Regions from separate parts of the Homo sapiens genome. Here all the other regions are linked to region 1. Evidence: promoter capture Hi-C in 16 types of primary human blood cells and fetal thymus (Javierre and others, 2016). All regions are on one chromosome and are shown on one strand. Each heading gives the region's core, a stretch centred on a gene start or on the middle of the fragment in contact. The rest is flanking DNA. Distances are from core to core; before and after follow the strand shown.

What was found. The method cuts DNA at HindIII sites, captures the fragments that hold promoters and counts their contacts. A CHiCAGO score of 5 or more calls a contact.
Region 2: a fragment that was not itself captured here is called in contact with the fragment with the promoter of CXorf38 in region 1 in 7 of 17 cell types (endothelial precursors, megakaryocytes, monocytes and 4 more); the score reaches 6.7 in endothelial precursors.
Region 3: a contact is called between a fragment that was not itself captured here and the fragment with the promoter of CXorf38 in region 1, in 13 of 17 cell types (naive B cells, total CD8 T cells, naive CD4 T cells and 10 more). The highest score is 10.7, in naive B cells.
Region 4: a fragment that was not itself captured here is called in contact with the fragment with the promoter of CXorf38 in region 1 in 4 of 17 cell types (monocytes, total CD4 T cells, naive CD4 T cells and 1 more); the score reaches 7.4 in monocytes.
Region 5: a fragment that was not itself captured here is called in contact with the fragment with the promoter of CXorf38 in region 1 in 3 of 17 cell types (monocytes, neutrophils and megakaryocytes); the score reaches 10.7 in monocytes.
Region 6: a contact is called between a fragment that was not itself captured here and the fragment with the promoter of CXorf38 in region 1, in 10 of 17 cell types (fetal thymus, total CD8 T cells, total CD4 T cells and 7 more). The highest score is 11.6, in fetal thymus.

The regions. Positions count from the first base shown.
Region 1 is chrX:40,645,734-40,649,415 of GRCh38, reverse strand. It overlaps CXorf38 (chromosome X open reading frame 38), which reads left to right and starts at 1,855. Exons shown (of 7, transcript NM_144970.3): 1 at 1,855-2,111; 2 at 2,275-2,409. The coding sequence starts at 1,896. MED14 (mediator complex subunit 14) reads left to right here. Exons shown (of 31, transcript NM_004229.4): 31 at 1-1,111. RefSeq lists silencers at 1,639-1,819, 1,655-1,954, 2,075-2,224 and an enhancer at 2,475-2,674. The HindIII fragment of the contact is 2,915 bases long and covers 1-2,589 here.
Region 2 is chrX:41,257,139-41,260,750 of GRCh38, reverse strand. No RefSeq gene overlaps it. Among named protein-coding and RNA genes, the nearest start is that of LINC02601, 17 kb to the left of the region's middle. The HindIII fragment of the contact is 1,343 bases long and covers 1,597-2,939 here.
Region 3 is chrX:41,176,528-41,179,796 of GRCh38, reverse strand. All of the region lies in intron 21 of USP9X (ubiquitin specific peptidase 9 X-linked), which reads right to left. Among named protein-coding and RNA genes, the nearest start is that of USP9X, 93 kb to the right of the region's middle. The HindIII fragment of the contact is 715 bases long and covers 1,098-1,812 here.
Region 4 is chrX:41,220,366-41,224,010 of GRCh38, reverse strand. It overlaps USP9X (ubiquitin specific peptidase 9 X-linked), which reads right to left. Exons shown (of 45, transcript NM_001039591.3): 39 at 609-794. Among named protein-coding and RNA genes, the nearest start is that of LINC02601, 54 kb to the left of the region's middle. The HindIII fragment of the contact is 5,585 bases long and covers 1-3,645 here.
Region 5 is chrX:41,239,545-41,243,221 of GRCh38, reverse strand. No RefSeq gene overlaps it. Among named protein-coding and RNA genes, the nearest start is that of LINC02601, 34 kb to the left of the region's middle. The HindIII fragment of the contact is 2,511 bases long and covers 948-3,458 here.
Region 6 is chrX:41,337,611-41,340,110 of GRCh38, reverse strand. DDX3X (DEAD-box helicase 3 X-linked) reads right to left here. Exons shown (of 17, transcript NM_001356.5): 3 at 1,028-1,075. Among named protein-coding and RNA genes, the nearest start is that of DDX3X, 4.7 kb to the right of the region's middle. The HindIII fragment of the contact is 3,587 bases long and covers 1-2,500 here.

The DNA.
Region 1 (3,682 bases), core at 606-3,105:
ATTTCAGAATGTATAAAAGTACTTTCAGAATTAGAAGAAAAGTGAGAGCTTCAGCAGAACGTGTCAAGTCGCTAATAACAGGAGTCGAACCTTATGTTTGAAAATTAACTGAGTGAGTTAAGTGCAAGCATAAACTAAAATTTATATGACTTTGAATTTAAGAACCACTAATAACTGTGTTCTAATTAACACAGTAATCTGTTCAGCCAAAGGATACTAACAGCCATTCTTTGGACTGTGGTTAATTTGATAACTTCAAGAAGTTATAACTTTGCTACCCTGGATTCTGATGCAATTTCAATATAAAAAGTTGTTCCTTTCATAGTTTTTCCCCCCAAAAGAAGTGCCTATTACATTTTACCTTAATGTTTATTTATCATCCAAGTGTTCTTGATATAAAATCAGTATACAGAAAATTTTAAGAGAACTTACATTCAAGGGACATAGAGGGAAAATGTTAATGTGTATTTCATTGTTTCTTGTGGAATTTTTTTTTCATTCGGTTTGAGAATGGACAGTGTGTCTAAGGATGTGATTTAAATTTACTTAGGATGGATTTAGCATTGAGGTTATTAAGACAAAGTTAGCAGAGGCCAGCCAGCACTGTGCTGCACAACTCCAGGAACTCCATGGTATGCTCACAATTTTCTGCAAGTTGCCTCCACTTCCAAGTGGCCAGTGATTTGTTAAAATACCTTGCCCAAGAATATAACTGATTGATGAAAGGGCATATTTAGGTCAATATAAAATAATAGCAAGTATTTACTGAGAGCTTACTGTGTGCTAGGCATTTTCTTAATATTTCAATGTGTATTTAATCCTCACAACAACCCAATGTGGTAGGTTATTGATATCCTCTTCTTAAAAATGAGTAAATGGAGGCCCAGAGAAATGTAATTTGCCTGAGATCAAATTAAGGTTGCTTAAGATCAAACTGCTAAGAAGGGGCAGTTTGAGTCTGAGCTAGTGCTCCTAAACACTGGACATTTTTGCTGTGAACCACAGTCGGGAAGGTTTAATGTTTAGACTCTTTCCTCAGAGGCTTTTAACTACACACAATTTTGACATGTTTTCCAAGCTCAGAAAGCTCATTAAAAACAACTAAAACTGACCTGACTTGTCACTTGGAGTTGACAATCCCAGTGCCTTCTGACCTTTGTGGCACTTCTTTGGAACTTAAATCAGACTTCCATGTGCAAGGAGCACTAATTATCATATAATCAAGAATACTAGATAATTATCGTCTAACCTTTGCTAGGTGCTTCAGGATGCCCTTATCTGGCTCAGGTGTGCAGCCTTCTAGAATCCAAGTGATGTGTTGCCCTAAACAGGCAAACGCCCCCTTCTGGGTGGTCCAGTGGCGGGGGATTTTGAGTTTTGGGTTAGCTTGGCACACCGCAGGCAGCCAGCGGTCACGTTTCACTAATACCTCAATTTGCTACAGCTGGTCTGTGGGCTTAGGAACCAGTAACTCTAGAATTGTATAATGCAAAGAACATACACGATTCAAGCAATGTGCCCTGAGCACCTTGTACATCTGGACAATAAAAAAAAGTTAAAACAGAAGTGCCCTACATTAGGAGAGGGAGTCGAATCGGATGCTGACAGGGTCTCTGTTTGGGGGACGAAGAGGGCCTAAGGGTTTCAAATAGTTAACTGCTTCCCCAAGCACCAAAGTTGTTAGACGTCAGACGTCAGACGTCACCCAAGTGGGGTGGAGCCGACGTGCCCCGGAAGTCAAGATGCCCCGCCCCGGGATCGGTGGCACCGCGCCGCGCAGGCGCAGGCGTCGCTGCCGCCGGCGCAGGCGCCGCTGCCTCGGGTACTTCCCAGGCTCCGCGCCTGCGCACTGCCGTCCGCCACGCCCCGCAACCTCCTGGTTCCAAGTGGGAGACATGGTGCTGTCGGAGCTAGCGGCGCGCCTCAACTGCGCCGAGTACAAGAACTGGGTGAAGGCGGGCCACTGCCTGTTACTGCTGCGCAGCTGCCTGCAGGGTTTCGTCGGCCGCGAGGTGCTCTCCTTCCACCGCGGCCTACTCGCCGCAGCCCCCGGCCTGGGGCCCCGCGCCGTCTGCCGCGGCGGCTCACGGTGCAGCCCTCGCGCCCGCCAGGTGAGCACCTGGCTCGGGGCCTTGACCACCGCCCCCACCCCACCCCTCCTCATCCCCGTTCCTGTCCCAGACCCAGAGCGCAAGTGTCCTGTTCCCTCCGCGATGCGGGGCCCACCGCGACGTCCCTCCCTCCTGGGCCCCTCCTCACCGCCGCCCCCTGTAGTTTCAGCCTCAGTGTCAGGTGTGCGCTGAATGGAAAAGGGAGATTTTGAGACATCATGTCAACAGAAATGGAGATGTGCACTGGGGAAACTGCCGGCCGGGCCGCTGGCCCGTGGACGCCTGGGAGGTGGCCAAGGTAAGCGCCTGAGGCGGGGACGGAAGGAGGAAGCGGCGGGTCACCCAGCACTCGGGGTGGCTATCTGGTCTTGTGGTCGCCGGGGCCTCATAAACAGATGCAGAGAGAGAGATTGATCAAGGGTCTAGGCGGTTCAGGGGTGGTATGCGGGACCCAACCCAGCTTAGTGAAGTAGAAGCTTTCTTCTACCCGTCTGCTTCCTGAGGGCATTTGAGTTTGTTACCCCTGCTTGGAAAGTTACAGGAAAGAGTTCTACAAGAGATACTGGGGCAAGATGCAGAGCGAGCATCATGAGCACAGGCAGGGAGGGAGGGAGACTCTTGTGTGGCCTGTTTGAGGGTAAGGCTCGCTGAACAGCTCATCAGCTCTTTTTTGGCTATAGGATGCCGTAAGGATGACAGAGTAAGCCAAGGGAAGTTAGGGCTAAAATAGCACCTTAAGTGCCCAGTTAAAGGCACTTTGGGTAGCTGGGAATGGGGTAGGCAGCCGGATCTGTCTTCAGATCTTGGCAATGTCACTTACTAAGTAGATCGAGTAGGAAATTTTTTTGCCCAGTAAGGGACGGAGAGGGACAGCCAGAAGTGGCTTCCTAACACAAATTGACTTTAGCAGTCAGTCTACATGCCAGTAGTTATCAGCAGGCACAGGGTGGGCACTGGAAAGGAGCAGTGCCTGGGAAGCAGATGATCTGAGTCCTGGATCAGCTGCCGTGGTGTGACACTGGGCCAGCTTGTGCTCCCCAATCTCAAAAATGAAAGGACGGCCGGGCGCAGTGGCTCACGCCTGTAATCCCAGCACTTTGGGAGGCCGAGGCGGGCGGATCATGAGGTCAGGAGATCGAGACCACGGTGAAACCCCGTCTCTACTAAAAATACAAAAAAATTAGCCGGGCGCAGTGGCGGGCGCCTGTAGTCCCAGCTACTCGGGAGGCTGAGGCAGGAGAATGGCGTGAACCCGGGAGGCGGAGCTTGCAGTGAGCGGAGATCGCGCCACTGCACTCCCGCCTGGGCGACAGAACGAGACTCCGTCTCAAAAAAAAAAAAAAAAAAAAAAAAAAAAAAAAAAAAAAAAAAAAATGAAAGGAATTGGGGCCGGGCGCGGTGGCTCATGCCTGTAATCCCAGCACTTTGGGAGGCCAAGGTGGGAGGATGGCTTGAGCTCAGGAGTTCAAGACCACCCTGGATAACATGGCAAAACCCCGTCTCTACAAAAAAATACAAAAATTAGCTGGGTGTGGTGGTGCATGCCTGTAGTCCCAGCTACTCAGGAGGCT
Region 2 (3,612 bases), core at 1,019-3,518, 610 kb before region 1:
ATGGGGAGGTTCCAGAGGGATGAAAACATGGCGCCTTGTAGGAAGGTGAACAAGAACTCATCCGCAGCTGAGCACAGTGGCTCATGCTTATAATCCCAGCACTTTGGGAGGCTAAGGTGGGAGGATTGCTTGAGCCAAGGAGTTCGAGACCAGCCTGGGCAACATAGGGAGACCTTGTCTCTACAAAAAATACAAAAATTCGTCGGTAATGGTGGTGTTAGCTTGTAGTCCCAGCTACTTGGGAGGCTGAGGTGGGAGGATTTGCTTGAGTCCAGGAGGTTGAAGCTGCAGTGAACCATGATCGTGTGCTAGATACAGTTCAGTGGCATTAAAAATGTACTTAACGCCACTGAACTGTATACATAAAAATGGTTACAATGGCAAATTTTATGTATATTTTATCACAAGAAAATCTTTTTAAGGCCGGGCATGGTGGCTCACACCTGTAATCCCAGCACTTTGGGAGGCCGAGGTGGTTAGATCATGAGGTCAAGAGATCGAGACCATCCTGGCCAACATGGTAAAACCCCATCTCTACTAAAAATACAAAAATTAGCTGGGCATGGTGGCATGCGCCTGTAGTCCCAGCTACTCAGGAGGCTGAGGCAGGAGAATTGCTTGAAGCCAGGAGGCGGAGGTTGCAGTGAGCCAAGATTGTGCCACTGCACTCCAGCCTGGTGACAGAAAGACTTCGTCTCAAAAAAAAAAAATCTTTTTAAAGAAAAAATACAATATTTACAATGCATTATTTACAATAATTACCCTTCCTGTGCCCCCACTCCTTCTCAATGCAGGGTAGCTCTTTGAATCAAGAGGTGCAGGCCTTGAGCCTGGGCTGGCCTTGGGACTTGCTTTGACCGGTTGAATACTTCACATTGTGCCTGCTCCAGGCCTCAATGGCAAGAGACCTTGAGCATTTCTGCGATTTCTGTTCACTCTCCTGGAACCCCGCCGCCTCCCTATGAACAAACGTGGGCTAGCCTGCTGGGGATGCAGGACCAGGCAGACGAACGACGATCCGACCAGCTGAGGTCACTCCAGACCAGCCCATCCGCAGCCAGTCTGGCAGATGCAGGTGGGAGCCATGTGTATCAGCTGAGCTCAGCCCAGATTGCCAGCCGGCAGCAGCAAAAGCTAAATCAACAGTTGGTGTTTTGGCTTCATGCCTATAATCCCAGCACTTTGAGAGGCGGAGGCAGAAGGATCGCTTGAGCCCAGGAGTTCAAGACCAGCCTGGGTAACACAGTAAGACCCCATCTCTACAAAAAATCAAAAAATTAGCTGGCCATGTCTGTGGTCCTAGCTACTTGGAAGACCGAGGTGGGGGGACCGCTTGAGCCCAGGAGTTCAAGACCAACCTGGGCAACATAGGGAGACCCTGTCTCTACAAAAAAATTAAAAAATTAGCTGGGCGCGGTGGTGTGTGCCTGTAGTCCCAGCTACTCAGGAGGCTGAGGTGGGAGGATCGATTCAGCCCAGGAGGTCAAGGCTTCAGGGAGCTGTGATCGTGCCACTGCACTCCAGCCTGGGTGACAGAGCAAGACCCTGTCTCAACAACAACAACAACAAAATGTTGGTGTTTTAAGGCCCTAAGCTTTGTGGGGGTCGGTTTTGCAGCAAAAGCTACCCGACTCAGAGAGGGATGACGCAGGTGATAAGGATTTTGCTGGCGAAGAGCCTAACCCTCTTGAATTCTAGTTTCTCAATTGGAGAGCTCGAAGGAGACTGGTTGCTAATGGTTTGAGGGAAATTTTATTTTTTCGAGACGGTGTCTCGCTCTGTCACCCAGGCTGGAATGCAGTGACTCGATCTCCGCTCACTGCAACCTCTGCCTCCCGGGTTCAAGCAATTCTCCTGCCTCGGCCTCCCGAGTAGCTGGGATTACAGGCGTCCACCACCACGCCCGGCTAATTTTTTGTATTTTTAGTAGAGACGGGGTTCAAACTCCTGATCTCAAGTGTTCCGCCCACCTCGGCCTCCCAATCTGGCGGTGGCTCATGATTACCGGCGTGGGCCACCGCGTCCAGCCTGGGGGAAACTTTTAAAGATGGCAGTTACCAACAATGACACTGAAGAAGCTAGGACTTCTTGGAGGTCAAGGTTCCAGCCTTCCTGGTTCTTGGACATTAGAATCTAGTATGAAGGAGATGCGGTGAGTCAGAGTGTACAGAGCTGCGGACTTCCAGTCTGATGGTGGTGGGGATGGGGAACGGGGGCCAAGCTGGCCTTCCCAGCCTCGGACCTCCCAGATCCTGTGTGCCGCAGAAGCCAGCCTGCAGCAATGCCCCCCACCAGGCTGGGGCGCCCACTGTCCCCTGCCTTGTCATGCGTGCCAAGATGAATGCTAAATGTGGAGATTCTTCCTCAGTGCTGGATTTCGCGCCTTCTGGCATTCAATACTAGCCTAGTTTTTAATAAAGAAGAAACAACACTATTTTGGTGCTGTAAACCTATTTTTCACCATCTGGCGTACCCGTATGCCTCTTATATTTCTTCTTCTAGGTCAGCAAAAATCCCATCATGGGACCAGAGCCTCCCTACCAAGGAGGATGTTATCATAGATTTCAGGGGACGAGGTACCCCTCTTCAGGTTGCATCCACTTAACTTTGAGTAACAGACTTCTAAAAAACCTGTTTCTATAAATGTCAGTAAAACAAAATGAACGTTTAGCTCATGGAAATTAACATAAAAATGAAAGTTTGATTTTTTTTTCGCATAACAGATGATGACAATCTTAAAATACCCGACAGACGAAAGAGGAAGGAAAACCACCCCTTCTGTCTGAGAGAATTATGCGATAATGGCCCAAAGCGGTCCTCTGCAATTTTTTGGGGGGTGACACTAAAGGAACAGAAGGTACTGGGGGAACCAATGGGAAAAATAGTTTAATTAGTAAAGTTAACTTAATTAGCAAAAATAATTCTCTTTGGAGCAAGCTTTGAATAAATCTGTGATAATTTGGTGATTCTATGAATTTTCTGGAATATGTGTACATGTGTGCATTGGGGTGCATGCACATGTGCGATCATGCATGTGCACGTGTGTGCATGCATGCATGGGGGTGGACCCAGGTTTTGTGGTCCCTAAAGATTATACAATTTTGGGAAGCCCTTTAAAAAAAAGAACACAGGCCAGGCACAGTGGTTCACGCCTGTAATCTCAGCACTTTGGGAGGCCGAGGCAGGAGGATTGCTTGAGCCCAGGAGTTCAAGACCAGCCTGGGCAACATAGGAAGATTTCGTCTTTATTTAAAAGAAAAAAAAAATTTTAATAAAAATGTTTTAAAAACCACAAAATGTGAATGCAAAATTAGGTAGGAAAGGGATGCCTATTTAGAATTAGAAAGAAAACGCAATTCACAATGTTTTCAAAGCTGAGAAATACCTCAAATTTCATATAATTCAGAAAACTAACAAAGTTTTGTTAACTGCTTAACAAACCTCAATGGCCCTTTTTCCCCCTGTAATTTTTGACTGCATACTCTTTGATCACCTTTTCGTGTGGCCGCAACTTTATAATATTTTCTAGGGAGAGGATAGAAAGATAATTCAGTTTTTGGCTGGGCGTGGTGGCTCACGCCTGTAATCCCAGCACTTTGGGAGGCCGAGGCA
Region 3 (3,269 bases), core at 206-2,705, 530 kb before region 1:
AGGGTATGAAAACAACAAACACTTGGGAAGGCACAAATGATTCGAAGGCCTAAAGACAGAGGCTGAAGACTGATTAAGAAGCCTTTCCAACTCCCTCAGGTTTCAGATTTCTCATTGCTGTAGAGATACAAATACGGAATGGAAGATGACTAGGAAGCTGGACTGGTACAAGCGTGAACCTGTGTTAGTTAACTGCAGGATACAAAAATCAATATACAAAACTAAGTAGTGTTTCCATTTGCCAATAGCAAACTATCTGAAAGAGAAATCAAGAAAGTTATCTCACAATAGCTACAAAAATATAAGATGCCTAGGAATAAATTTAAGCAAGGAGGAGAAAGATCACTACAAAAAAAACTGATGAAAGAACGAACACAGGACACAAATAAATGGAAAAATATTCTATGTTCATGGGTTGGAAGAACAAATATTGTTAAAATGTCCATATTACCCAAAGCAATCTACAGATTGATGCAATCTCTATTAAAATACCAATTATATTCTTCACAGAAATAGAAAAAACATCCTTTGAGGTGAATCTGCAAGGTAAAACAAAAAAATACAAAAAACACTCCTAAAATTCATATGGAACTACAAAAGACTCCAAATAGCCGAATCAATCTTGAGTAAGAAGAACAAAGCTGAAGGCATCAGCTACTTGACTTCAAAATTTACTATAGAGCAATAGTAACCAAAACAGCATGGTATTGACACAAAAATAGACACAGATCAATTGAACAGAATAGAGAACCCAGAAATAAATCCACATAATCAGAAACAACTGATTTTCAACAAAGGTGCCAAGAACACACATTGGGGGAAAAGGCAATCTCTTGAATAAAAATGGTGTTGCAAAAACAGAATATACATATGCAGAAAAATGAAACTAAACCCCTATTATTCATCATATGTAAAAATAAACTCAAGATGGGTTAAAAACTTAAATGTAAGACCAGAAACTATAAAACTACTAGAAGAAAACACAAGGGAAATGTTTCATGTCATTAGTGTGGGCAAGGACTTTTTGGCTAAGACTTCAAAAGCACAGGCAACAAACACAAAAACAGACAAACGAAATTACATTAAACTAAAAAGCTTCTACCCAACAAAGGAAATAAGACCACAAAAAGACAAATCTACAGAATTGGAGAAAATATTTGCAAACTATGCATCTGACAAGGGGTTAATATCCAGAATATATAAGGAACTCAACAGCAAAAAATCCGATTTTTAAAATGGGCAAAAGACTTGAATAGATATTTCTCAAAAGAAGACATCCAAATGGCCAACATGTACATGAAAGCACACTCAACATAACTAATCATTAAGGAAATGCAAATCCAAACCACAATGAGGTATCACCTTACCACAATTAGAATGAAATAAGGATGACTTGGCAGGGGCACTGTGGTTCACACCTGTAATCCTAGCACTTTGGTAGGCCGAGGTGGGTGGATCACCTGAGGTCAAGCGTTCGAGACCAGCCTGGCCAACATGGTGAAACCTCGTCTCTACTAAAAATATAATAATTAGCCGGGCATGAGGGCAGGTGCCTGTAATCACAGCTATTCGGGAGGCTGAGGCAGGAGAATCACCTGAACCCAGGAGGCAGAGGGTGCAGTGAGCCGAAATCACGCCACTGCACTACTCCAGCATGGGCAACAGAGCAAAATCTCCGTCTCAAAAAAAAAAAAAAAAAAAAAAAAAAAAAAGATTTAAACCTCGGATTTTGATTTCTAAATACCCTTCCTTCTAAAAACTCTGGAATGGCAGATTCCAGAGCTGGGGCAGAGGAAATACTATAGATAAGCTTGAAACATCTTCTCATACCAGAAAATAATAAAGTACAATAAAGTACCTTAAAAAAATTGAGGTTGTATGTCTGGGTCTAACCTATAGGGGCTTCCACTGACCATATCTAGGACAATTGAGCATCAAAATAAATAACCATTACAATGGTTATAACCCAATGAATAAAATAAACCCATAAGAGTGATCATATATGACAAATATAAAGGCGAGAAAACAAAGCACTACCTTATAGAATGTCAACTAATAAATGTAGAAAGGATGACAAAATTAAAACAAAATTACCATTTTGCAACCATCATAGTAAAAACATTTAGGCAACAATCACAATAGATGATAAAACAAATGTTTGATGAGGAAAAAGATAGTTACGAAGTCTCAAAGCATCTCTCTACACAAAGCATCTCTCTCCTTTAGAGGAGAAACCTGGCAGCTATCAACTAAGTGATCTGGGTTAATGTCACCAAAGACACAGTGACATGTGTCTCTCAATGTGATGCTCTTAGACACATCAACATACAAGTAGTACTCTGTCAAATGTACAACCTCCATATAATCATCAGAACAGATAAGACCCAATGAGAGATATTCAGCGCAACTGACATGTGCCATTCAAAAACAAAGTCACAAAAGACAAAGACTGAGGAACTATTCCAGATTAAAGACAACTGAAAGAGATACCGAATAATTATGCAATGTATGAACCTGGATTTAGATCCTCAACCAGAAAACATTGTTATAAAGTCCAATACTGAGGAAAGTGTCAAAATATGAAAATGGTCTGCAGATTAGATGATATTACTGTATATGCTAAATTTTTTTTATTTTGAATAATACTATGTTAATGTAAGTGAGAACATTCTTGTTTTTAGAAGACATATACTAAGCTATTTAGGAAGAAAAAGATGATTGTCTACAACTTGTTCTCCAAATGTTAGGAAACTTTTGCCATCACTACGGCAAACTGTTAATTACTGAATTTGGGAGCCAACTGTATTCTTTGTAAACAGTTTGAAATTATTTTAATATAAAAAGCTAGTTAAAAAACTCAAGGACAGTAAAAGATGATGCTGGAAAAAGAAGAAAACATAATATCCATCAGTAATAGCCTAGAGAGAAATAATTACAGTCTGTTATGCTATAGCACGTTTCTATAACCCCAATTAGCTCACAATCAATTGGCAAATATAATGATGTCAGTATAATGCAGAAGGTGAGTTTGTTCATGTGTGATTTCTTCCAGGCAACAGTAGCCAGAACAACAGAACTGTTAATCTTCAACAAAAAAATTAAAATGAGCAAAGCAAAAAGCCCCCTCAGCTGGGTAGATGTGTAAGCAGAAGCCTGTTTCTTTTTAAAGGAAAATTTAAAGTGAATACTTGCATCAAGGGCTCATCTTGTGAGATACAATCCTAAACTAGACTTTCATGGACCTTGGCAGGTTCTACTTCCCCCTGTGC
Region 4 (3,645 bases), core at 853-3,352, 570 kb before region 1:
CCAGGCTCAAACTCTTCAGCTCAAGTGATTCTCCTGCCTTGGCCTCCCCCAAAGCATAGGGATTACAGGCATGAGCCACTGAGCCCAGCCTAAAAAGTTAATTCTTAAACTATTTCATAAACATGGTATCAACCTCAGTCACAAGGAGACAGAAAAAAGACCCCCATTAAACACGTAAAAAAGGTACAGGGCTAAAATATTCCAAAGCAAAAATCTTCCTCCAGACTCTTAGTACTATATATGCCCAGCAGCATTTAAAAACTACCGTAAAGAGGGCTGGGCATGGTGGCTCACACCTGTAATCCCAGCACTTTGGGAGGCCGAGGACGGCAGATCACCTGAGGTCAGGAGTTCGAGACCAGCATGACCAACATGGCGAAACCCCGTCTCTGCTAAAAATACAAAATTAGCCGGGCGTGGTGGTGGGCACCTGTAATCCCAGCTACTTGGGAGGCTGAGGCAGGAGAATGGCTTAAACCAGGGAGGCGGAGGTTACAGTGAGCCGAGATCACGCCATTGCACTCCAGCCTGGGCAACAACAGCAAAACTCTGTCTCAAAACAAACAAACAAACAAAACTAGTGTAAAGAATGGAGCATTCAAATTTACCATTGATTGAAGACTGCATTCTTGAAGAGACATTGCAACAGCGGATCAGCTGTGACACTACTGAGTATAATTTGCCTAATTCAGCATACTGGTATTTGATTGGAGGACCTGGACCTTCATCTAAAGACACAAGCATAAAAGTAGCAGGTACACTCAATTTCAGAAGCTGTGTCTTCTCTGCCACACCTACAACAAAAAGGAGTGAAGGGGAGAAGAAAGAGAGGGAGAAAAATATGAGGAAAAAATTAAGATGGCAAGGGCTTCATGAATAAAACAAGTAGTTATACAAAATATCTTGTCTATAATTTTTATGATCAGAAAAATTTTGATTTGTAATTTTATCACTTTTACTTAGCATTCAGAGAATTATTTTACTAGAAAAGAAAACTCACCCATTGAGTATAAGTATTAACATTGTTCAACAGTGACTATGACTATGACATTCCAATCACACCGGCTCACTGTAAGGAAGATGAACACTTTCTTTCTTTTTTGAGACAGTCTCGCTCTCTCGCCAGGATGGAGTGCAGTAGCATGATCTCAGCTCACTGCAACCTCTGCCTCCCGGGTTCAAGCAATTCTCCTGCCTGAGCCTCCCCAGTAGCTGGACTACAGGCACGTACCATGCCCAGCTAATTTTTGTATTTTTAGTAGAGACGGGGTTTCACCATGTTGGCCTGGGTGGTCTCGATATCTTGACCTCATGATCTGCCCGCCTTGGCCTTCCACAGTGCTGGGATTATGAGCCACCACGCCCGACCAGAAGACGAACACTTTCTACAGCCTGGAGAGTCTAAAGGGACTAACCAACACTGCAACCCTCATTTGTAAGGAGGATGAAAACAACAAAATAACTACATTAAATGAGAAGCAAAAACTCTTTTATAAATTGCCTGCCTCTCTTCTTTCCTCTACAGCCAAACTTCTTGAAAAAGATACCTACATTTGGTCTCTCTACTTTCTCATTTTCTATTCCTCAACTCATGCCAATTTGGTTTTGGCCCCTCTTCACAGTAATAAGCTAAGGAGCAGTTCTCAAACCATAACCACTTCTTCCTCCCTGGATTCCTGATTTTCTTTCTACCTCTTTTTGTTCTTATTTGCGACTCCTCCTTGTCTCTTAAAAACTGATGTTTCTCCAAGTTCCCATGCCAGGCTATCTTCTCACACTGATTTCCCTGGATGATCTAGCCCACGCTCACGGCTTTAATGTTCTAGATATCTTCATTCAGATGATTCAAAAACATTTCAAGACAAATTACTTACTGTTCTACTGTATATCTCCATTTGGGTGTCACACAGGCTCAAACTCAATCTACCCAAACTGAACTCACCCCTTTCTTCCCATACATACATGTTTCTCCTCCTGTGTTTCCCCTCAGTAAATGGTACCACTATCCACTCACAGTTGTTCATGTTAGAATTTTGGGCATCATTCTTCACATCTCTTCCCTGTCCCCTCCTTCTCTGAATATCCCATCACCAAATCCACTGATTCCACTTCTTATAAAAAGCACCATATATCTATCTGTCCACTTGTATCTCCCTCACTGCCAGTTCTCCAGTACAGGTCACAATGATCTTATGTCTATAGATCATTTTAACACTCTCTGGGATCTTACTCCACTGCAATACATTCCACACTGTGGCCACAGTGCTCTTTCTAGATGGTATTATCTGTTCAAAACCCTACAATGGCTCATCCAATGCCTCAGTCTCTCTCACAAGGCCTATTAGAACTGCATGATCAGAAACTCCTGCCATTCCCATCTTACATCAATTCTAGTCAGACTGGACAATTTTCATCCCATCCAATAAGCCACGCCAAGTTTATCAAGTCTTTGCATCTGCTGTTCACACTCTAGATGGAAAGCTCAACTAACCAATTCCCACGTTACATTCCCCATTAAGTCTTCTGCACTCCCCAAATCCCTTCAGGTACCATGCCCCCCGTGATGCACTTTGCATTTTCCCTATTATAGCTATTAACATATTTTATGGCAACTACATTATTTGCTTCTATATCCCATTAGACAATCTTATTTATTGCCATATTCCCAAAAACATAATAAAAACAGGTCCACAACCTCTTATCTGAAATCCTAAGATTCCAAAAGCTATTTTAATTTTTAATTTTTTTTAAGATGGAGTCTCGCTTTGTCTCCCAGGCTGGAGTGCAGTGGTGTGATCTCAGCTCACTGCAACCTCCGCCTTCTGGGTTCAAGCGATTCTTCTGCCTCAGCCTCCTGAGTAGCTGGGATTACACGCATGTGCCACCACGCCCGGCTAATTTTTGTATATTTAGTAGAGACGGGGTTTCACCATGTTGGTCAGGCTGGTCTTGAACTCCTGACCTTGTGATCTGCCTGCCTCGGCCTCCCAAAGTGCTGGGATTACAGACGTGAGCCACCGCGCCTGGCCCAAAAGCTATTATTATAACAAGTTTTTTTTTTTTTTTTGAGACGGAGTCTTGCCCTGTTGCCCAGGCTGGAGTGCAGTGGCGCGATCTTGGCTCATTGCAACCTCTGCCTCCCAGATTCAAGCCTCAGCCTCCCGAATAGCTGGGACTACAGATGCCCGCCACCACGCCCTGCTAATTTTTGTATTTTTAAGTAGAGATGGGGTTTCGCCATGTTTGCCAGGCTGGTCTTGAACTCCATACCTCAGGTGATCCGCCTGCCTCGGCCTCCCAAAGTGCTGGGATTACAGGCATGAGCCACCTCGCCCAGCCCAACAAAGTTTTTCATTAAGTTGCTGTCAAAATGTGGTTGGTGGGATAACCTAGCCCAAACTGACTAAAGGCTACTTATAGTCTTTATTTCTCCCTTCAGTATAAATATTCATATTTTACTGTAGAAATATTAATGTGTTCAATTGTAAGTTGTTGTCTCAGACCCTGCTATAGAGATGTTGGTATATGCACTGCCTTGCTTTTCTTAAATCCAAACAATTCTCAATCCCAATGCATATCTGATCTTAAGGACTTCATATTAAGGTTTACAGGCCCTACAGTATTTGTTTTCAGCAGGAAAATTTT
Region 5 (3,677 bases), core at 954-3,453, 590 kb before region 1:
GGCAAAGTGTACTTCACACGTGTAGAACCTGTGCCTCAGTTGTGATGGCCACCCTCACCTCCTTTTTTTTTTTTTTTTTGAGACGGAGTCTCGCTCTGTCGCCCAGGCTGGAGTGCAGTGGCGTGATCTTGGCTCACTGCAAGCTCCGCCTCCCGGGTTCACGCCATTCTCCTGCTTCAGCCTCCCATGTAGCTAGGACTACAGGTGCCCGCCACCACGCTCGGCTAATTTTTTGTATTTTTAGTAGAGACGGAGTTTCACCGTGTTAGCAAGGATGGTCTAGATCTCCTGACCTTGTGATCTGCCCGCCTCAGCCTCCCAAAGTGCTGGGATTACAGGCGTGAGCCACCGCGCCCGGCCACCTCCTTTCTTTACATTGTTTCTTCAGTCCCATAACATCTTTGCAGCATTATTATTCCTGAGTGATTATGACAGCACAATTAAGTTTTTTTTTTTTTTTTTTTGAGACGGAGTCTCTGTCACCCAGGCTGGAGTGCAGTGGCATGATCTTAGCTCACTGCAGCCTCTGCCTTCCGGGTTCAAGTGATTCTCCTGCCTCGGCCTCTTAAGTAGCTGGGATTACAAGTGCATGCCACCACGCCTGGCTAATTTTTGTATTTTTAGTAGAGACAGAGTTTTACCATGTTGGCCAGGCTGGTCTCGAACTCTTGACCTCAGGTGACCCGCCCACCTTGGCCTTCCAAAGTACTGAGATTCCAGGCCTGAGCCACCACACCCGGCCTAAAATTAACTTCTGATGAAGAGAAAGTTTATTGTAACAAAGACAAGAGTTTTTGAAATGCAGATGAGAAAAATTCCTGTCTTGGAGACTTGACAAGTGGCTACAAGTAGGCACAGTCTAAATTCAGCCCATTTGCGAAAGTTATAAAGGAGATGCATTTTTAATCAAAGTCACCACGGTAGGGTTTCATATGAATAAACAAGCTTTTATTTTCTAATGGAGGAAAACATTTGGAGTGGAGACCAGACTTGAGAAGAACCGTACACAGACTGCTTTCTTAGAACTAGGCATTGCCCCTCTGGGCCAGAACACAGAGCTCACACGCCCACTTCTTGTTTGGTGCTGTACCGAAGTCACCACTGGGGCCTGCGACATCCACATTTTTTTTTTTTTTTTTTTTGAGATGGAGTTTCGCTCTTGTTGCCCAGGCTGGAGAGCGAGGGCGCGATCTCAGCTCACTGCAACCTCCGCCTCCCAGGTTCAAGCAATTCTCCTGCCTCAGCCTGCCAAGTAGCTGGGATTACAGGAATGCGCCACCATGCCCGGCTAATTTTTTGTATTTTTAGTAGACACGGGGTTTCTCCATGTTGGTCAGGCTGGTCTCGAACTCCCGACCTCAGGTGATCCACCCGCCTCAGCCTCCCAAAGTGCTGGGATTACAGGCGTGAGCCACCGCGCCCGGCTGACATCCACATTTTAAAGCTGCTAAAGGATTTGGATGGATTGGTGCTGAGTCAGGGTACAACCTGCTATCACTTGAAAATATGGGCTGCTATTTTATTTTCTTCCTGGGACCCGTGTGTTTTGTACAGCACATTAGCACATTTTCTTTTCATTCAAAGTAGTGGTTATAACACTTGATCTCAGCCACTGGAAATGTGTTAGTATAAATCTTCAATGTACTTATTTTCAAATGAGGTTCAAATCAGAGCTACAAAAAAATAAAAGGCGTATTTCAGTTTTCAAAGTTGTAATCCCACATCGAATTTGTAACAAAAGCTGCTCCTCAACAGGAGTTCACGCTAAACGCATTGCAAAGAACTACTGTGGGGTGAAAAAAACTACTGCAATTGATGTACAGCATAATTTAAAATATGGGATATTATTTTAGGCAACTGTATTTTCTTTTAATCTAGACACAAAATGTAACACTGTATTTCAGCTACGGTACATCTGTAAACAAATTCGGAATAAAAAAACAAACAAACCTTACTTGACTTTTCCCCCATTCACTAGTCAAATTTAGAAGGCCAAGTTTTTGTTTTGTTTTGTTTTGTTTTGTTTTTGAGATGGAGTTTTGCTCTTGTTGCCCAGGCTGGAGTGCAATGGCGTGATCTTGGCTCATTGCAACTTCCACCTCCCGGGTTCAAGCGATTCTCCTGCCTCAGCCTCCCAAGTAGCTGGGATTACAGGTGCCTGCCACCATGCCCGGCTAATTTTTGTATTTTTTAGTAGAGATGGGGTTTCACCATGTTGGCCAGGCTGGTTACAATCTCCTGACTTCCAGTGATCCGCCTGCCTCGGCCTCCCAAAGTGTTGGAATCACAGGCGTGAGCCACTGCGCCAGGCCAGAAGGCCACGTTTTAACAACTGTTTTCAAACCAACCTAATGCCAAACTTCAGAATTTAGTAGGAGATTCAGGTATGACGTTATATATGCTTTCTTTTAGTTCTAGCCTTAAATCTTAAGTTAATTCTTGACTTTAAATTTGTACAGTTAAACCAGCTTCCCTAAAAGTAATTCCTCTTTTTTGTTTACAGCTCTAAGCTGCTTTTGTGATGAGTATTGCCCATTGCACTTCAGCATAGCGGAACAGCAGTTAAAAGCCTAAATGTGGATTGCATATTGATAAATTATTACTCCTCAAAAGCACCTGATAATATAAGTGTCACTCTTGGTTACTTTATCATCCTTTTCTAGAGACAAAAACACAGAATGAGAGGGACATCCTGTAGCCATTTCTTTTTTTTTCTTTTTTTCTTTTTTTGAGACAGAGTTTCGCTCTCATTGCCCAGGCTGGAGTGCAATGGCTCACTGCAACCTCCGCCTCCCGGGTTCAAGCGATTCTCCTGCTTCAGCCTCCCGAGTAGCTGGGATTGCAGGCATGCACCACCACACCCGGCTAATTTTGTATTTTTAGTAGAGATGGGGTTTCTCCATGTTAGTCAGGCTGGTCTCGAACTCCTGACCTCAGGTAATCCGCCCGCCTCGGCCTCCCAAAGTGCTGGGATTACAGGCGTGAGCCACCGTGCCCGGCCAATGTGAGATGCCCCTCCCCTTGAACATGGGTGGGGTTTATGGACTTTCTTCCTTTTTTTTTTTTTCTTTTGAGATGGAACTTTGCTCTTGTTGCCCAGGCTGAAGTGCAACGGCGCCATCTCGGCCCACTGCAACCTCCGCCTCCCCGGTTCAAGCAATTCTCCTGCCTCAGCCTCCAGAGTAACTGGGATTAGAGGTGCCCGCCACCATGCCCGGCTAATTATTTTTGTATTTTTAGTAGAGACCCGGTTTCACCATGTTGATCAGGCTGGTCTAGAACTCCTGATCTCAGGTGATCCACCCGCCTCGGCCTCCCAAAGTGTTGGGATTATAGACGTGAGCCACCGCGCCAGGCCTGCTAATATCAGTGTCTAACGCTGTGCTGATAAGTGCTAAACAACAACCCAACATCCAGTTTATCTAGCACTTAACGTTACTAAGTTATTAAACCAAGCTTCAGTGGCCATTAGTAAGGCAAACCTGCTACCATTTTAGTGCAAGTCTGAATTTTTGTTTTTTGTTTTTCTGTTAGATAAAAATTCTGATCTTGGATTGGGTGCAGTGGCTCACGCCTCTAATCGCAGCACTTTGAGAGGATAAGGTGGGCAGATCACCTGAGGTCAGGAGTTCGAGACCAGCCTGGCCAACATGGCGAAACCCTGTCTCTACTAAAAA
Region 6 (2,500 bases), core at 1-2,500, 690 kb before region 1:
AAGGCAAAACCCCGTCTCTACTAAATATACAAAAATTAGCCGGGCATGGTGGCACATGCCTGTGATCCCAGCTACTTGGGAGGCTGAGGCAGGAGAATCACTTGAACCCAGGAGGCGGAGGTTGCAGTGAGCCCGCGCTACTGCACTCCAGCCTCCGCAGCAGAGCAAGGCTCCGTCTCAAAAAAAAAAAAAAAAAAAAAAAGCCAAAGTGATCTTCTGGTAGAAATAATACAGATTTTATATCCATGCATTGCCAGGACAGTGAAGGTAATACAGACTACATATGGAGATGGAGGAACAGCAGCAAACCATGTGCTCCCCTGTGGACTCTCCACTCTTCCTATCTGCCTTCTTTATACAGTATCTTCCCTCCTAATCTTTGGTTTTCCTGACTTTCCCTTTTCCTCCAAATTTTGGATGGTCTATTTTACAGAATATAAAGCACCCGAACAGCTGTCTCATAATATGAAACATATACTAGCTGTCATCTATCACTACGTTACAATTACAATGGGAAAAGACACCAGATATTGTAATACATTTTGGACAAAACCTTTCAAAAGCAGCAAGGCAAGGAGATGAAACCAGAGAATCACTTCCAACGCTGTAACTTGTTAACTGTTCTACAATAAGCCCATCTTCATTTCTAGCAACTTTGCCAAGACAGAAATAACCAGGTTGTTATCATTATACAGCTTGGTTTACACAGTAGGGCACCCACCTCTTCCAAACTAAAACCATGCTGTGAATGATTACAAACAGATTCAGCACAACACTAGTGAAACTGTACAAAACCATGCCCTTGGCGTCAGAACAGTTTGACATAGGAATGCCGAATTTCCCACTGCGTAACATTAGATGAGTTCTTCCAAAATTATTAAGCTCTAGTATTTGAACCAAGGCTGACAGAAGCATAGAAAAACAACACCATGTTTAGACCTCCCCCAAATGCCTGGTTTTCCTTAGGCTTTACTAACTTCTAAAGGAGGCAAAAAATAGACCTACGAAGTTACTTGTGAGGACCTACCTTTAGTAGCTTCTCGGTTCCTTAAATGAGGAGGAATATAGCGCCCTTCTAAAAAAATATATATATATATAAAATTAATTAAATGCCAAAAAACCTTCCCATTTAAATTTCTGTTACTAAAAAATGGTTCTGGGAAATTAAAATCTCCAGCCTTCCAATCTGATTACTTACCTGGACACTGAGAGGGGGGAAAAATAAGAATCTAATTTTAAATGGGTTACTGCTTCATAAGGAGAACTCTGAAAGGAGTTTGATAAAAAAAAGCTGATTTGGAACCTAATAGTTGAAATCCACAAATTGAGCACATTTAGCCACCAGTGGTCATTTAATGTGATTTTTTTAAAGGCCTGCTAGATTTAAGAGAACTGTCATCAAAACTGTCAACAAAAGCATTAAGTATTACTGTAACAATTTAAGATTACTCATGTAACATATCTCACAATCTTTTGTTTCTATGCCAGTAAGTTGCAAAACATACAATAAATAAACAAGGAAAAGCTGCAAAGGGGAGTTAATTTCAAGGAATTGCAGGTTTTAATTTGGGGCTTGCTGAGTTTAAGGAAAGTTGACAGTTGCTCTGTATGCGAGCAGGAGTACAGCCTAGAATATGGATAAGCAAAAAAAACAACATAAAGCCAAATAAATTTGCTTTATAACTAGTAAACGTGTCATTTTTCTTTTTCACTTCTAGACTGAATTAAATATTTTTAAAAATCTCTACTAGGACAATCAGTTCCTAAAAGATTCTTAGCATGACAAATAAGGTGAAAGTTAAAGCAAACACCAAGTTTTGTTCCCAGTGAAGCTGTTCTTGCCTAAAAATGAGGACACATCATAGCCCATACTCACTTTTGTTTTAATAAGTAGGAAGAGATCTGAGCTAAAAATAAGGGTCTATTGCCCTTATAATAAACCACCAAGATCCCCTATCTTAACACTAACCTCTAACAAGTCTCTAAATAACCCCCCTTAGAAGAAAAAAAGCAACTTTTCTAATGCCTTTTTAAAAGAAATGACACATTTGAAAACCTAACCTAACCACCAATCCAAAATTCAGTATAGTCTTCTGTTCTTCAGGAGAAAGGAGTAGCTATAACCAATGAAATGCATATTCCCTTAATTCAATTTAATAAATATAGTCAGTTAACAGGGACACATTCCCATCACCTCTAAACTGGGCTCAGGATTTATAATGGACAAAAACTCTTCTAGAGATAATTTGATATAATAAGGTTCTTTCCAATGATTAGCTGCTTTTACTCAAGAGAGCCAGCTAGTCATTGATGTTTTATTATCAGAAAGGCACAGCTATTCGGGAGGCTGAGGCAGGAGAATCGCTTGAACCCGGAGGCAGAGACTGCGGTGAGCCGAGATCACACCATTGCACTCCAACCTGGGCAACAAGAGCAAAGCTCCATCTCAACCAAAAAAAAAAAAAAAAGGCAACGATGCTTTAGATTGATCACTAAGTAC